Regions from separate parts of the Homo sapiens genome. Here region 1 is linked to region 2. The links are contacts of gene promoters, found by promoter capture Hi-C in blood cells and fetal thymus (Javierre and others, 2016). All regions are on one chromosome and are shown on one strand. Each heading gives the region's core, a stretch centred on a gene start or on the middle of the fragment in contact. The rest is flanking DNA. Distances are from core to core; before and after follow the strand shown. Region 1 holds the start of ZNHIT2 (zinc finger HIT-type containing 2). Region 2 holds the start of CFL1 (cofilin 1).

Region 1 (3,989 bases), core at 1,245-3,744, 740 kb after region 2:
GGCGCTTTGTCAACGTTGTGCCCACCTTTGGCAAGAAGAAGGGCCCCAATGCCAACTCTTAAGTCTTTTGTAATTCTGGCTTTCTCTAATAAAAAAGCCACTTAGTTCAGTCATCGCATTGTTTCATCTTTACTTGCAAGGCCTCAGGGAGAGGTGTGCTTCTCGGGTTGGTGGTATGTCCCCTAGGAGAACAGTGAGGCAGAAAAGGCAGAAGCCTTTGGTATGGGGGGAAGAAATGGTAAACTACAAGAGAAATTTCCTGTGAAGAAACAGCTACAGATCCTGGGGGGCTTCAGATGTAAAATTGGGGTTATTCCCTATCCTAAGTAACTTGATCAGTCCCCCCAGGTCATTCTTTTTCATCTTCTAAACAGAGAAGGTAGCAGGAATCACTGTGGTGAGAGGTTTGTTATGGAGGCAGCAATAGAAGGGATGGGTGGGGGAAGAGGTTTGTATAGAAGGTGAACCTGGCCGTTCCCTGAACTTGGTACCAGCTGTGGCCTTAGAGTCCAGGGCAGGAATCTGGTCTGCCTTGGTTTTAGAAGTAAATATTATGTTGGGAGCATGGCCTCGTTTGTACCTCTGTGACTGCCTGGCCGGACTTGGTAACCTAATCACATCTGTGATTGGATATAGTGAGGTTTCAGTGTTCCCAAAAGTTGGGTTACCTCTGGGGCTGATTCAGGGTTCTCTTCTGGCAACTGAGCCTCCCAGCACTTCTGAACCCCACTTACTCATTCAGCTAAAGTTTCTGGACCTGCCAGTTCTTGAGAAATAGCATCCAACAGGGTAAAGCCCTTGGGCTGTGGACTTTGACTGCCTGAGTTTGGACCTTCTTTTTCTTCCTACTCCATTTACTGGGTGGCTGGCCTTTGAACTAACTACTAATTTAATCTCTGCCATCTCCAGGGCTGCTGTGAGGGTTAAAGGATGTAAATCAACATCTGGCTTACAGTGAGTGTGTGAATCTTGGCTATTTTTGTCTCTGTGGTGTTAAAGACATGGTTTCTGCCTTCCAGCAGTTTAGAAAGGGGGAGGATGTGGACAGATACAATAGCATCCCAGAGAGGGCCTCTTTTTTTGTTTTTCTTTTTTCTTTATTTTATTTTATTGAGACAGAGTCTCGCACTGTCGCCAGGCTGGAGTGCAGTGGCACAATCCGAGCTCACTGCAACCTCAGCCTCCCGGGTTCACGCCATTCTCCTGCCTCAGCCCCCTGAGTAGCTGGGACTACAGGCATGTGCCACCACGCCCAGCTAATTTTTGTATTTTTAGTAGACATGGGGTTTCCCCATGTTGGCCAGGATGGTCTCGATCTCTTGACCTCGTGATCGCCCACCTCGGCCTCCCAAAGTACTGGGATTACAGCCATGAGCCACAGTGCCCGGCCTTTTCTTTTTTGTTTTTGAGACAAGGTCTCTCTCATCCAGGCTGGAGTGCAGTTGCACAATCATGGCTCACTGCAGCCGCCAACTCCTGGGCCCAGGTGATCCTACTCAGCCTCCAAAGTAGCTGAGGACTACAGGCATGCACCGCCACACCTGGCTAATTTTTTGTACTTTTTTGTAGAGACAGGGTTTTGCTATGTTGCCCAGGCTGGTCTTGAACTGGGCTCAAGTGATCCGCCCACCTTGGCCTCCCAAAGTGCTGAGATTACAGGTGTCAGCCGCTGTGCCCAGCCGAGAGGTCCTGTTTAAATGACGTGAGTGAGACCTGAGATGAACCAGTCAAGTGATCAGGTAGGGGAATATTTCAAGCCTAGAGGACTGTGTGAAGATGGGGAAGAGGTGATGTCTAGGGCTGGGGGCGGGCAGATCCTGCAAGGCCTTGTCAGCCATAGAGAGGAGTTTGGGTTTGAGTCCAAGTGCAATGGAGGGTCGCAGAAGGGTTTTGAGTAACAGATGGATCTCATCTGACTTGTGATCTAATTTCTCTGGCAGGTTTTTCTGGAGGGCTGGCAAGAAAGTTAGGAAAAACACTTAATGTGTTGTCATCCACATGAGGGGTCAGGAAGCTTAGACCACCAGTAGTAGCAGGGATGCAAAGAACACTCACAGTTTGGTTCATCACACCCCCCACTCCACCACAAGAGTGAGCTCTATTAGAACAGGGACCCCCGGCTCCCTTTGATGTGCATTGTGTTCTTGGCACCTAGAATGGGGCCTGCACTTAATAAGATGGATGAATAGTGGTATTTAATGAGAAGATACTTAATGAAAAGAAGAGGCAGTTTTGGAGGAAAAAAATCATAGGAGCTCAGATATTTCTTAAATGCTGCTTTCTATTTATCTTTTTGAGGTGGAGTTTCTCTCTGTGGCCCAGGCTCGCAGGCTGGAGAGCGGTGGCGCGATCTCGGCTAACTGCAGCCTCCACCTCCCGGGTTCAAGCGATTCCCCTGCCTCAGCCTCAGGAGTAGCTGGGACTACAAGCACCCGTCCCCCACGCCCGGCTAATTTTGTATTCTTAGTAGAGACGGGGTTTCTCCATGTTGGTCAGGCTGGTCTCAAACTCCTGACCTCAGGTCATCTGCCCGCCTCGGCCTCCCAAAATGCTGGGATTACCGGCGTGACCCACCGTACCTGGCCCTAACTGTCCTTTTATTTGTCTGTGTCCCCTAGTGCATTTTATTTGTCTGTGTCCAGCGCAGGGATGCATCGCCTCCCGTAGGCTTGGCACAATTAGTGGCCCAGAGTAGGTGCCTAGTAAAGATGGATTTATGCCACAGCACATTGTAGTGCTAAAAAGAGGGTTTTCTCTTTAGATGATCGGGCCACGTTTTGGTGTGACCACTAGGGGGAGACGTGGCACCGGCGAAGCGCTCGCCAGACCCATTTTTTCGCTCCTTGCGTCATCGCATAGGGCGGGGCTCGTACCTGACGCCCGGCTTCTGGGCCTGCTCTCGCCCTACTAGGGAAAGGGGTGGGGCTTGGCTTTCGGGCGTGGGCGGAAATTGCCGAGAATCCTCGGAAGCTTTGCGAAAACACAGCGCGCCGTCGGCCGCGCTGCGAACCGGAAGTAATCGAAGAAGCCCCGGAAGTTTCGAACTACCACCGGCGTGCGTTCGCAGGTAGATCGCGGTGCCAGTTGCCATGGAGCCGGCCGGGCCCTGTGGCTTCTGCCCGGCGGGGGAGGTCCAGCCAGCGCGTTACACCTGCCCTCGCTGTAATGCGCCCTACTGCTCGCTGCGCTGCTACCGGACGCATGGCACCTGCGCAGAAAACTTCTACCGTGACCAGGTGCTGGGAGAGCTCCGCGGTTGCAGCGCTCCTCCCAGCCGCCTAGCAAGCGCCCTACGCCGGCTGCGTCAGCAACGCGAGACCGAGGACGAGCCTGGGGAAGCAGGCCTCAGCTCCGGCCCGGCGCCCGGCGGCCTATCGGGACTCTGGGAGCGGCTGGCGCCGGGCGAAAAAGCTGCCTTCGAGCGGCTGCTGAGCCGCGGTGAGGCCGGGCGGCTGCTGCCTCCATGGCGGCCGTGGTGGTGGAACCGCGGAGCCGGACCGCAGCTTCTGGAGGAGCTGGATAATGCCCCGGGTAGTGACGCCGCGGAGCTGGAGCTCGCCCCTGCGAGGACCCCGCCGGATTCTGTGAAAGATGCCTCCGCCGCGGAGCCCGCGGCCGCCGAGCGGGTTCTTGGAGATGTCCCGGGGGCCTGCACGCCCGTCGTACCCACCCGCATCCCCGCGATAGTCAGCCTGAGCCGCGGCCCAGTCTCGCCGCTCGTGCGCTTCCAGCTGCCCAATGTGCTGTTCGCCTACGCGCATACTCTCGCCCTGTATCACGGCGGTGACGACGCGCTGCTCTCTGACTTCTGTGCCACACTGCTCGGCGTTTCCGGAGCCCTGGGTGCCCAGCAAGTCTTCGCCTCTGCGGAAGAAGCCCTGCAGGCGGCAGCCCACGTGCTGGAAGCAGGCGAGCACCCGCCGGGGCCCCTGGGCACACGAGGGGCTATGCACGAGGTCGCCCGCATCCTGCTGGGCGAGGGCCCGACC
Region 2 (3,375 bases), core at 876-3,375:
AGATTGTCAGCTTCAGCCTCAAGCTTGAAGGAGGCTGGAGATGGAGACTGGTCTTGAAAAGAGTCCAGGAGAGGCGGGGGCTAGGAGACAAACGGGTGCAAACGTATTGGTGGGAGGGACACCCAGAAATGGGTGCCGGGGATGAGGACACAAAGGTAAGGCAGGAGGAGCTGCAGGACCCTTGGAGGAAATGGTGATCCTCATCCCCGGGATACAGGGCAAAGAGTGTGTGGTGGAGAGGAAGTCGGGGACGTGCCGAGAAGGCCCAAAATAGAACTCGGAATGTCGGGGGTCAGAGGCCTAGAGGAAGGAGGACTGTAAGTAAGAGGTGCTTGGGCATCCTGGCAGTTGGGGAGGCCTGAGATGGGCACGCGGTTGGGTTTGGGAGCGGAGGAGCAGGCTGCGGGTTAAGAAGCCCAGACACAGGTAGAGGGGAGAACACTTCGTCATTTTTGTGGCTAATCGGAAGTGGGAGACCCTCAGGGAGGTTGAAGATGGAAACCCTACAAAGGGCTTCAACCTGAGAAGCCTGAAAGACACGTATAGCTGAGTTGGACACAGGCGACCCGCCAGGGTTTGAAGCAGCACCCGGCCTCTAGCTGCTATGCCGGAAGTCGCAACACGCAGGTCTCCAGCCTGCGAGGAAGGGAGAGGTGGGCGCCAGAGCTCCAGTCCCGCCCCTCAGGACTGTGCCTAGCCCACGGCGCAGTAGCCCCAGCCAAGCTAAATTGGACCAATGGGCTCCGGCTCCCGCCTCCCGCCCGCCGCGGCCTTATAAGGAGCCTCAAGCCGGCTGTCGGGCTGGCCCCGCCCCCTCGAGTCTCTTGTCCTAATAAGGACATCTAGGGCATCCCGCGGCTGGGGGCGGGCGAGAGCGCGTCTCCAGGGTAACTGCGAAGCCCCCCTCTCTCTCCCCGTTGCTCTTGGAAACTCTAAGGCTCAGAAAAGGGGGCGCTAGCCTCATATTCATGTAGGGTCGCTCGCGGGAGGCGGGGTCAAGCTGCTGTCTCCACCTGGAGCGCCGGGAGTCCGGGCGGGGGCGGTGCTGTGGAATGTCCCCGACTACAACCCCCGGTATGCTCTGCAAGGTACCCCACTCCCAGGCATCGCTCTCCGTTTACACCCTTAATTCCGTTTATAGGATTAGGGCCCCCAGTTCCCTTTCTGGGTTTGCCTCTGACTTGTTTGCGACCCAGTCTTTTCCTGCAGAGTGTGAGGCTGTGGTCACTGTTCTAGAACAACAAAATCATCCCGGAGTCCCCCGCTCGTTTCTTTTTTTTTTTAAGGCATATACTACCACAGAACTTGTCTCAGTTTTGCGGATGTTAGAATAACCATGTACCTGGCTATCAACTCGAGAGCTGGGTTCAAGTCTGGTTTAATATCTATTTCTTCTCATTGGCACGTAAAGGCATGTAAAGAAGCCTTGAATTGAATGCACAAACCCTCGTCTTTACCCTTTAACGCCTCATGACTTTGCCAAACATCTTTAAACAAGAACAAAGCTCTCAGAGATTTCCTTGTACCTTTCCCCTGTGCCTTTTCCTCCTATTCTTGTTTTACTGACGTTGGACATGGCCTTTTTTCAGGAGACGAGAGTGGCTTTACACATGCAGAGTACTAGTGTTTATCCGACTGACGACGCCTTCATACTTGTGATTTCCTTTGCTTTAGGTCGGGATTCCAGGCTAATCAATAGTTGCTTCGATTCAGAAATGCAAAACCCTAACCTCACTCAAAAATTTCAGGCCAAGGGATCCAGATAATACCAGATGGGTCTTAAGAAAGCCGTTTTGCTGTGGGATAAAGAGCCGCTTAGTCGGGGATCGTTTTCGGGTCATTTTACTGAGCGCCGCCTCGCCGGGCTCAGAGCGGTTCCTGGGAAATTGGACCAATGGGCTCGCGCTGCGCGCTGCGGTGCCGCCCAGGACCTGGGCCTACATTTCCCTACATGCACTGCAGCTCGGAGCCGGCCGGCGGGAAGACTCCGTTACCCAGCGAGCGAGGCGGCGGCGCAGGGCCAGCGGACTCCATTTCCCGTCGGCTCGCGGTGGGAGCGCCGGAAGCCCGCCCCACCCCTCATTGTGCGGCTCCTACTAAACGGAAGGGGCCGGGAGAGGCCGCGTTCAGTCGGGTCCCGGCAGCGGCTGCAGCGCTCTCGTCTTCTGCGGCTCTCGGTGCCCTCTCCTTTTCGTTTCCGGAAACATGGTGAGCGGCAGGCCACGGCGCCTGAGGGAGGCGGCTGCGGGTCGGTCGCCTGCGCGCGGGAAGCGACTGGGGAGCGACGTCCGCACCCCCTCCCCCAGCGCCCCGGGCGGGATGAGGGTCTCGCACGAAGGGGCGGGCGGTGCCGGAATGCGCGTGCGCGCCCGTGGGCGCCGGGGAGGGCCGGTCTGGACGTCGCTCGCGCTCCGCCTGGGCTCCCCTCCCCCACCCGCTGGTGCGCCCGCGCGGACACCGGCCGCGGGGGGAGGGGTTCGGGGCGCGCGCTGGGGCGCCCCTCGCGGAACGGCCGGCGTCGCGCCTTTCTTCTTAGGGGCGCGCTCTCGACTGGAGCATGCGGCGTCCAAACCCGGCCCGGGGGCGGCGAGGAAAAAGCGCGCGAGAGGTCTCGGCGCGCGCGCCCCACCCAAGGCTGTTCCTGTCTGCGCGTCACCCTCCCTCGGCAGCCGGGTCCGTCTCGGGAGCAGGTGGCAGGGATGCCTGCGCCCGGGAGGGGCGGGTGCTGGCGCGGCGAGGGGTGATGCTGGGAAGACGGGGTCCCGGTTGGGGCGTGGGTGCCTGCGATTAAGGCCTTGCACCGCAAGGCTTGGAGGGGGCATCGCAGAGACCGCGGCCCGTTCGGGAGCGCATCTAACGAGCTGCGTTCTCACCCGTGCATCGGGCGAGGGCTGGAACGGCGCTGTCTGTCGGCGCGTGCGCGCACGCTCAGGCCCGGCCGCCGGTGCCGAAGCCCTGGGCCAGCGAGGCCTTCCCGGATGGGCCTGAGTGAGGGTGGAGCCGAGTTTAGGGAAGTGACCCAGGCGGGCACCGCCCGGAAACCACCCCGCCCCCTGTATACGGCCCGAGGGCTGAGAAAACCGAAGGTTATGTAGCTTGCCCAGGCTCCTGCCTGCAGGAGATGGGTCTGATACACCCGTTGTTTTAGGGCGATTCCACAGGGTTAGGGACCTGGAGATGCTGCTGCCTCTCGGATACGCGTTTCTGCATTGGTGAGGGGGCCGGGCCCAGCCGATCTCCTGTCCCCGCCCACTCCGGATGCGGCCGAGTCACGTGGCCGGCTTCTTCTGCAGTTCCGGGGAGTTTGGGGGACCAGATTTACCTTGGATTGCCCCTCCCTCTCCTGGCTCGGGCACCCCGAAGCACGACGCAGAG

What was found. The method cuts DNA at HindIII sites, captures the fragments that hold promoters and counts their contacts. A CHiCAGO score of 5 or more calls a contact.
Region 1: a fragment that was not itself captured here is called in contact with the fragment with the promoter of CFL1 in region 2 in 1 of 17 cell types (fetal thymus); the score reaches 5.3 in fetal thymus.

What each region holds. Positions count from the first base shown.
Region 1 is chr11:65,116,754-65,120,742 of GRCh38, reverse strand. It overlaps ZNHIT2 (zinc finger HIT-type containing 2), which reads left to right and starts at 3,042. Exons shown (of 1, transcript NM_014205.4): 1 at 3,042-3,989. The coding sequence starts at 3,090. It overlaps FAU (FAU ubiquitin like and ribosomal protein S30 fusion), which reads left to right. Exons shown (of 5, transcript NM_001997.5): 5 at 1-113. The coding sequence ends at 62. RefSeq lists enhancers at 2,792-3,086, 3,079-3,622. The HindIII fragment of the contact is 956 bases long and covers 2,017-2,972 here.
Region 2 is chr11:65,856,930-65,860,304 of GRCh38, reverse strand. It overlaps CFL1 (cofilin 1), which reads left to right and starts at 2,125. Exons shown (of 4, transcript NM_005507.3): 1 at 2,125-2,208. The coding sequence starts at 2,206. It also overlaps a transcript of MUS81 not described here. RefSeq lists enhancers at 130-219, 920-1,009, 1,570-1,639, 2,030-2,079, 2,013-2,553 and 1 more and silencers at 670-749, 2,160-2,559. The HindIII fragment of the contact is 11,606 bases long and covers 26-3,375 here.